Regions from separate parts of the Homo sapiens genome. Here region 1 is linked to region 2. Evidence: promoter capture Hi-C in human tissues and cell types (Jung and others, 2019). All regions are on one chromosome and are shown on one strand. The core of a region is centred on a gene start or on the middle of the fragment in contact, and the rest is flanking DNA. Distances in the headings are between cores, read along the strand shown. Region 1 overlaps DENND2C (DENN domain containing 2C). Region 2 holds the start of AMPD1 (adenosine monophosphate deaminase 1).

Evidence for each region. The method cuts DNA at HindIII sites, captures the fragments that hold promoters and counts their contacts. A contact is called where the count stands out against the background at its distance.
Region 1: a contact is called between a fragment that was not itself captured here and the fragment with the promoter of AMPD1 in region 2, in 1 of the 25 tissues and cell types used here (psoas muscle).

What each region holds. Positions count from the first base shown.
Region 1 is chr1:114,643,338-114,648,238 of GRCh38, reverse strand. DENND2C (DENN domain containing 2C) reads left to right here. Exons shown (of 21, transcript NM_001256404.2): 3 at 2,680-2,791. Among named protein-coding and RNA genes, the nearest start is that of DENND2C, 24 kb to the left of the region's middle. The HindIII fragment of the contact is 5,072 bases long and covers 451-4,901 here.
Region 2 is chr1:114,692,382-114,697,236 of GRCh38, reverse strand. AMPD1 (adenosine monophosphate deaminase 1) reads left to right here and starts at 1,691. Exons shown (of 16, transcript NM_000036.3): 1 at 1,691-1,787; 2 at 3,790-3,801. The coding sequence starts at 1,766. The HindIII fragment of the contact is 10,350 bases long and covers 1-4,855 here.

The sequences.
Region 1 (4,901 bases), core at 1,737-4,236, 50 kb after region 2:
GAACTAGGTTTGTGTTAGTTTGGGTAATTAACCAGTTCAGCTTCAGCTTCCCCATTCACAAAATAATAAAACTTTCTACTATTGCAGGTAATAGTAACTATCTGTTAGGGTTGTTGTAAGAATTAAATGAAGGCCAGGCGCGGTGACTCACGCCTGTAATCCCAGCACTTTGGGAGGCCAAGGCGGGTGGATCACCTGAGGTCAGGAGTTTGAGACCAGCCTGGCCAACATGGTGAAACCATGCCTCTACTAAAAATACAAAAATTAGCTGCGCATGGTGGAGGGCACCTGTAATCTCAGCTACTCGGGAGGCTGAGGCAGGAGAATTGCTGGAACCTGGGAAGCAGAGTTTGCAGTGAGCCAAGATGGCGCCATTGCATTCTAGCCCTGGTGACAACAGTGAGACTGTCTCAAAAAAAAAAAGAGTTAAAAGTAGTAATGAAAGTAGATACATAGCATGGTGCCTGGCAAATGTAAACACTTAATAAGTAATAATTATTTAAAATATATGCTATACAGGTCAGGCGTAGTGGCTCACATCTGTAATCTCAGCACTTTGGGAGGCTGAGGCAGGCGAATCACTTGAGGTTAGGGGTCACAGACCAGCCTGGCCAACATGGCAAAACCCCGTCTCTACTAAAAATACAAAAATTAGCCAGACTTGGCAGTGCATTCCTTTCACAAACATTACCTAATGGTATAAAGAAGTGATTTAGAAGCCAACTAAATGGCTTGAGAAACCAGGAGAATATTAGAGACTATTGTCACCAGGTTGTACAATAGTGGATTATTGAACCCGAGAGGCAGAGGTTGCAGGGAGTCGAGATCACGCACCCAGCCTCGGTGACAGAGCAAGACTCTGTCTAAAAAAAAAAAAAATCACATTGTACTCCATAAACATACACAATTGGAATTGATCAGTTAAAAATAAAAATTAAAAAAGAAATAATTCTTCCTTCTTCTGAGTAAACAAAGGAAAGGGTTGTTTACATTATATATTCATACAACTTTTGGCCACCTGGTTATTTTAGCAGACCCCTGAATATTCTCTCTCTCTCTCTCTCTCTTTTTTTTTTTAAGATAGAATCTCACTCTTTTGCCCAGGCTGGAGTTCAGTGGTGCAATCTTGGCCCACTGCAACCTGTGTGCCTCCAGGGTTGAAGCAGTTCTCCTGCGTCAGCCCCCTGAGTAGCTGGGATTACAGGCATGCACCACCACGTCCAGCTTATTTTTGTATTTTTAGTAGAGACAGGGTTTCGCCATGTTGGCCAGGCTGGTCTCAAACTCCCGACCTCAGGTGATCCTCCCACCTCAGCCTCCCAAAGTGCTGGGATTACAGGCATGAGCTACCGTGCCTGCCCTAAATATTCTCTGTTTACCTAGGTGAAATGGTGAACATTAAAGCTAATGCATGTGTAAGTCAGAATACCTTATTATGGACTCATGATCTACCAGAGGTACACAAGATGGTACATTAGGATGTGAAAAAAGCATTAGAAATGCTACTTGTATTCATTTTCATCTAAAAATAAATTAAGCTTTTCTAAATATTTAATATACAGTTTGACACTGGTGCTTTCTCTGGATCAGACTTTATATAAGGAATGATCCCCAAGGGAAGAGTAGACATTCCCTCAAACAAAACGGAGTTGGCGGTGACATCCTCACTTGTTTGTGCACTTTTAGCTGTTGCAACATAGAGCAGTTCATATGTGTCCAAGTAGGTGGATTTACAGATTATATCTTAAATAATAGAATCATTATAATCCTTTGAAAATGAGAAGTGTCACAGTCATGAAAATATATCGCACACTAGTTTTTTGATTACGTTATGGAAAAGTATTTTTTAAAGTTGCAAAACTTAAAATGTCACACCATTTTCCTTTTCCAAAGAAAAGTGTTCTAAAATTGTTGATTTTCTGTAATGACAAGTGGTTGTCAGCAAAAAATTATCTTAAACATGTTCAGTGTGTCCCTACGAGGTAAACATGATGTTTTAACAATGAATAACAGGCCGGGCGCAGTGGCTCACACCTGTAATCCCAGCACTTTGGGAGGCTGAGGCAGGCGGATCACAAGGTCAGGAGATCGAGACCATCCTGGCTAACATGGTGAAACCCCGTCTCTACTAAAAATACAAAAAAATTAGCCGGGTGTGGTGGCGGGCGCCTGTAGTCCCAGCTATTCAGGAGGCTGAGGCAGGAGAATGGCGTGAACCCGGGAGGCAGAGCTTGCAGTGAGCCAAAACGGCGCCACTGCACTCCAGCCTGGGCGACAGAGCGAGACTCTGTCTCAAAAAAAAAAAAGAATGAGAAATTGTTTTTCTAAAGAAACATGATTTGCAGACAAAATTTGATATTTCATAATATATCAATTATTACTTAATGTTGCCCAAAACAAAGAATGTGTTATCTGTAAAGCTCTCCTATCTACACACTTAGATTTTGAATCAGTTTGTTAAAAATTTTTAAATGTTCAGTTAGTTTGAAAGTACAGATGATAAACATTAGAGAAGATGAAAATTTACTAGTCAAATTTCAACAAAAATCCTTGCTTAATTTAAGGTGAATAGAATTGACAAATAAGTATTCTGATTCAGTCAGTGAAGCTCTTCTTTCATTGTTTTCCATGTATTTGTGGTGAGTTATCTTTTTCTATTACTGTGGCCTTTTGTATTAGTTTGCTAGGTCTACCATAACCAAATACCGCAGATTGAGTGGTTCAAACGCCAGAGATTGATATTCTCACAAGTCTGGAGGCTGTAGAAATCTAACATCAAGGTGCCAACAGGGTAAGTTTCTTGTGAGGCCTGTTTCCTTGGCTCGTAGATAGCAGTCTTCTCCCTGTGTCTTCACATGGTCTCCCCTCTGTCTGTCTGTGTCTAGGTTTCCTCTTTTTTTCGAAGTACACCAGTCATTGGATTAAGGCCCACCCTACTGACCTCATTTTAACTTAATTACCTCTCAAGAGACCTGATCTCCAAATCCAGTCATATTCTGAGGTGCTGGGGGTTAGGACTTCAACATATGAATTTTCAGGGGACACGGTTCGATCTATAACACCCTTAGAACCAAGTATTGAAATAAACTGAGTTTTGGACTAAATCTTTGAATCACTGTATCAAAAAAAACCACGTTTAATCACATTGCTCTTACTCAAAATATTTGTAGTTAAACTTCAGTGAGAATGAAATGGTTACTATACCCTCCTTTTACATATTTAATTTTTACTAATTTAAACTAGTAAAATGATTTTTTAAATCTCATGCCTTTAAATTTTTAGTTTCAGTATGCTTTATAATGTTCATGATATTATTATAGTTTTATGTTTACAATTTATAAATAAATACATATAAATCAATTATTTTCTTCATTGGAGACCCCTGACTTAGATATTGCCCCTTCTCAAAATGTCTTTCTATCCTGAAGGTAGTATGTTATGTGCTATTAAATTATGCTTTTCAAATTGTAACAACGTATATGACCTTAGAAAGCCATCGAAACTTGCTAAACCTCAGTTTCCTCATCTAGAAAATGAAGATATCTTCCTCTAAGGATTGTTATGAGGATAGAATGAGATTATGCATGTAGTGCTTGGCAAATAGTAAATATACAAAAAACATTCTTATTGTGGTGTGAATTATTTAAATAAGTTATTTTGGTGTTACTCGTATTCTTAAACTATTCTAAGAAGCTTCCCCATTCTACAAATGGGGCAGCTTCAAATCATTGGAGGCACTTAAAGTAATAGGCACTGCAGATTTTTCGTAAGCCTTTTCCTTTTAAGCATTCTTATATTTAGGATTTTGTCATTCATTCAACAAATACTTACTGAGGGATTACTGTATGGTGCATACTCTTCTGGGTGCTGGGGATACAGTAGTAAAAAAGCTTATATTCCAGTGAGGGAGAGAAGTAAACAAATAAATAACACAATTTCAGATAAATGATAAGTTCTATGGAGAAAATATAGCAGAGTGAAGACATAGAAAATCATGTTGGAAAAGGAGCTTTATTTTAGATAGAATGAACACAGAAGGTGAAAATTGACTAGAAATAGAAAATGAGAGAGGAAGAAGTGATGGTGGCCTGGTTTGGTGTGTTAGCAGTAAAGATGATAAGTGGTGGGAATTTGATTTGTTTTAAAGGTGGAGTTAACAGGAATTACCATTGGATTAGTTATGGGGATAACACCTAGGGTCATGTAGCTGTGGCAAATAAACCCTCCAGTAGTACCCGTTACAATCAGTAAACAGCAAAGAAAAGGAATTGTAGTCATTTGGAAGGTTTTATGAATAGTGCGGATAACCAACCATGTAACACAATCATGAAATTAGCATTATTCTAAGTCTTTGGCTTATGCCTCAAAATTCTGAATATAATCTGCATATGTCAGCTATCATTTTTCATTCTTTCATTTTAAAAAACCTGAAAAAATTTCCATGACAAATATCTCAACAGACTTGATGGAACTGTTAAAGAATTAAATTTATTTTTTAAAGATTCTTACATATTTCTTGATTTACTAATAGGCACAGTAATGGCTTGAGAAATTTATATTATGTGTTATAAGCAATATTAGGAGTTTATTTAAAGTTTCTTTGTTATTTTGGGAACCATTTTTAGTTACTTATAAGGCTGTTTCCTCTGATAGGAGTGAGATAAAAGGCTGGTATCCTGTATGTGCTTGCTTTGAAGATTTGTTATTCAAGGAACAGTCAACAAGATGATAGAGGTTTGAAAAGTAGAAGCCTGTTTGACACTTTTTTTCCCTATTAGTCTGGTCCTTTATTATTTGTTTTAAAATATTTTTAGCCACATTTAATGAAGAATCTTATGCAAGATATATTCCTGTGGGCTTTATTAAAAATGTATTGAGGCTTTCGATTAAATAATGTGTTA
Region 2 (4,855 bases), core at 442-2,941:
AAAGAAGTTTTTGTTTGTAAGAAAGGTAGGGAAAATGATCTTTGGGTAGGCAACTAGGGTATTTACACAATTGGAATGAGAAAATTGGAGTGTAACTTATATAAAGATAGGAATTACTGAAGGAGAAGCAGGTTCATGGAGGAAGATGCTTGGTTTGGATGTATCAATTTGTGGATACTGTTGGGAAATCCAGGTAAAAATGTAACAAAAAGGAGTTGGAAAGAAATGAACAAATATTTTGGTTCAGTAACACCTTTGTAATGTGTTGCAATATTGTTGATTGAGAGGTTGGCCATAAGGCTAAGCACTAAAATATTGTTAAGTTTTGCCAACAAAAAGGCTTGTCCCAATTTTCAAAAAGAAATAGTTAATAGTAAAAAGATCATTTGGTCTATGCCCATAATTCTGTTGCTAATCTGAAGTGCCAAGCTCATCTTCAATATAAGCTGTTATAATTTAAAATTTCTGCTGAGTCTAGCAGCGTACTTTCTTTACCTAGCAGCAACTATCAAATATTTAGTCATAACTGGCCGGGCGCAGTGGCTCACGCCTGTAATCCCAGCACTTTGGGAGGCCAAGGCAGGTGGATCATGAGGTCAGGAGATCAAGACCATCCTGGCTAACACAGTGAAACCACATCTCTACTAAAAATACAAAAAATATTAGCCGGGCATGGTGGCAGGCGCCTGTAGTCCCAGCTACTCGGGAGGCTCAGGCAAGAGAATGGCGTGAACCCGGGAGGCAGAGCTTGCAGTGAGCCGAGATCGCGCCACTGCACTCCAGCCCGGGCAACAGAGCGAGACTCTGTCTCGAAAAAAATATATGTATATACACATATATATACATATATACATATATATACACACACATATATACAGTCATAACTAAGACTGTGTGTTATTATGGAAAGAGCGTGAGATTTGGGTCCAGAGAGCCTTGGCTTTGCCATTTATGATGAACAGAATGACTTTGAGCAAGATACCTGTCAGAGCCCCAGTTTTCTTATTTGGGAAACAGGGATAAGGTATTACTTGCCTTACAGGATTGTAATTAGTATCAAATAGATAATGTTTGCCAAATGTTTTACATACAATAAAATGTTATACAAAACAAAGCTATTGTTCTTATTATAACAATAGGTAGAGAAGTGGTAACTGGATACTCTGGAGGACAGTTGAGTTTCTGTAAAAGACTTGAAGTAAATTTAACACTTAATTCATTAAACTGTCAACTGAAGTTCTGCTAAGTCAGACACATTACTAATAAAAACATGCATTCCTGAGCGTGTGTGCGTGTGCGTGTGTGTCTGTTGAGAGCTTGATGAATGTACCAGCATATTCACCAACCACAGAAAGCTGTTTGCGTGATGTGAAACCCTGAGGATCATAGCTTCAGAAACCGGAAAGACTTCACTGTATTTCACTAGGGTGGGATATCACCATCAGTGGTCCTACACTTGCCAAAGATCCAGTCTGTAAGAAGATTTAGAGAGTATTGAAATGCAATTTTTGGCCCACCACAGATATCTTCTAATCCCAAAGTAAAGACTGAAAGCTTCACCTGTTTTTCACTATCAAATGCCTCAAGCTATAAATAGGTCCAAAGCTCATCTCTCTCCACTTAGCAGAGAAGAATCAAATTTCCGGGGGCAAAGCAAAATAATAAAATGAATGTCAGGATATTTTATAGTGTCAGTCAGTCACCCCACAGTCTCCTCTCTCTTCTTTTCTACTGTGCTATCCTAGAATCAAGGATTTCAGCAACAATGCCTCTGTTCAAACTCCCAGGTAGGTGTACAAAGTGTTTGGAGAGCTCAGTTGTTGTTGTTTTTTTTTTTTTTTGACAAGCAACTGTTCCTTTAGCTACCATATCAGCTTTGATCATTCATTTAGGGTTCGTGATAGCTTTAACATACATTTCAGGAAAACACAAAATATTTTCAAGGGTTTTTTGTTTGTTTTTAGTTTTGGGATGTGGGTAAGTTTCTAAAACTGTTATCATGTATATTGCATCTTTGATGATCCCAGTAGAAAACTCTGTGAAATATTTAATATCTATTCTGCTAGTCTAAACAAAACCTGTGCTGCCATAGCTCTGAGACGGCTTCTACATAATGACTCTAGCTATGGTATTGGCTGAAAATCATGAACATGACAAAAATAACCCATGTGTGTATTCTGATGGTTCACGAGAATAGCTTTCTGTTGTCCAGGTTTGTACGCAGAGTAATTTTTAAAATAATAATGTTATAATTTTTAAATGATAAAAGCAATACATGTTTCATGTGAAATAGAAATTGTGCTGAAAAAATAAAAGTAATAAACATTCGTTTTGAAAGTTGGGAAATTCAGTAAAAGTAATAATTTTATTTTTTACTTATTTATTTATTTTTTGAGACAGGGTGTCACTCTGTTGCCCAGGCTGGAGTGCAGTGGCACGATCACGATTCACTGCAGCCCCAATCTTCTGGGATCTGGTGATCCTCCCACCTCAGCCTCCCGAGTAGCTGGGACTACAGGCACTTGCCACCACGCCCAGCTAGTTTTTGTATTTTCTGTAGAGACAGGGTTTCGCTATGTTGCCCAGGCTCATCTTAAACTCCTGAGCTCAAGCAATCTGCCTGCCTCAGCCTCCCAAAGTGCTGGGATTACAAGTGTTAGCCACTGCACCCAGCCAAAAGTAATAATTTTAAAAATCTGCACATCCATTATCCAAAGATATTCACTCTTAACATTTTAGTGTTTTTTTTTCTTTTCAATCTATTTTCTGTGTAAAATTAAAGAGTTTTTTTTAAAAAGGCACTGTTATTATATTGCACATGTAATTTTATATCCTGCTTTTGGCAGGATAATGTTTTGGCTTAACTTTACAACTTATCCTTTTACCATGGTATCCCAAACCTTTCCTAAAAACCATTTTAAAAGACTGCATATTCTATTTTCTTAATTAATCCCTTAGGTTCTTTATGGTTTGGGGGTTTTTTTTTGTTTGTTCGTTTTTGTTTTTGTTTTTGTTTTTTTAGAGACAGAGTCTCGCTCTGTCACCCAGGCTGGAGTGCAGTGGTGCGATCTTGGCTCACTGCAAGCTCCACCTCCCGGGTTCATGCCATTCTGCCTCAGTCTCCCGAGTAGTTGGGACTACAGGCGCCTGCCACCACGCCCGGCTAATTTTTATATTTTTAGTAGAGACGGTGTTTCACATATAACACAGTGAATATCTGTATTAGCCAGGATGGTCTCGATCTCCTGACCTCATGATCTGCCAGCCTCGGCCTCCCATAGTACCAGGATTATAGGCGTGAGCCACTGCACCCGGCCTCTTTATGGTTTTTTTAAGTATAAGTATGTTCTGATAACAATATTGACACCTAAAGCTTTTTCCATGTTTAAGGATGATTTCCGTAGGATAGCTTCTCAGAAATGGTTGTTTGGTAGGTGTTACTAAATTGTTTACCAAATGAGCTGTTTTAAGTTTACTACTACCAACATCATATGAGCATTCCCATCTTTCTTCATCAGATATTTTTAAAAATCATATTTTATAGAGAGTGCCTTTTAAAAAGTATACTTATAAATGTTAAGAGACATATTAGAAAAGAAAAGAAAATGAAGAGCTGTATAATGACCATATTCCCAAGCTTTCTGATGGCAGAAAACTGTAGACAAGCTGGAAGGCTGAGCTGAAATAACAGCAATCTACATGTGTCTACCCCAAAGCAGTGATTAATAGCCACCATGATTACAGAAAGTTGTTCACATATTTTATCTTGTTTTATTTTACTTCATACAGCTGAAGAGAAACGTGAGTATTGCATTACTTTTGCTGCCATTTGTCAGAGTATCAATTTAAAAAAATGATACTATTCCTTAATTCAGAAACATGGCTATTTTTCAGCAGTGTTTATTAAATAATAGCCTTGAAAGTCAACAAAGATTCATAATGACCATAGATATCCCATAGCATAGCAAATAAGCTCATGGCTTTTCTGGATTCTAGTGTGTGTATAAACATATATATATATATAATTATATATAATTTTTTAAAAGAAAACCTCATGCAGTGCTTTTACTTATTTATTTATTTATTTATTTATTTATTTATTTATTTATTTATTTATTTTGAGATGGATGGTCACCCAGGATGGAGTGCAGAGGTGTGAGCTCTGCTCATCGCAACCTTTGCCTCCCGGATTCAACTAATTATCTTGCCTCAGCCTCCCGAGTAGCTGAGATGACAGGTGCACACCACCACACCTGGTTAATTTTTAGTAGAGACAGGGTTTCACCATGTTGGCCAGGCTGGTCTCGAACTCCTGACCTCAAGTGATCTGCCCGCTTCAGCCTCACAAAGTGCTGGGATTACAGGTGTGGGCCACCACACCCAGCCTGTTTAATATTTTGAAATAAATGACATAGATTAGCCAAAGGGGCCTATTGAATCTTGCCTTAGTAAAGCAACTCCAGCGCAAAAAAAAAAAAAAAAATTGTTGTTCATTTTTGTGACCAGATAAAATAAAAACCTATTTTATTTATTTGTTTGTTTATTTATTTATTTTTTGAGATGGAGTCTTGCTGTGTTGCCCAGGCTGGAGTGCAGTGGTGCGATAGCTCACTGCAACCTCTGCCTCCTGGGTTCAAGTGATTCTCCTGCCTCAGCCTCCTGAGTAGCTGAGTTTACAGGTGCCCACCACCCATCTGACTAATTTTTGTATTTTTAGTAGAGACGAGGTTTCACCATTGGCCAGGTTGGTCTCGAACTCCTGACCTCAAGTGATCCACCCACCTCAGCCTCCCAAAGTGCTATGATTACAGGCGTGAGCCACCGTGCCCAGCCTTAAAAACCTATTTGAGATAAA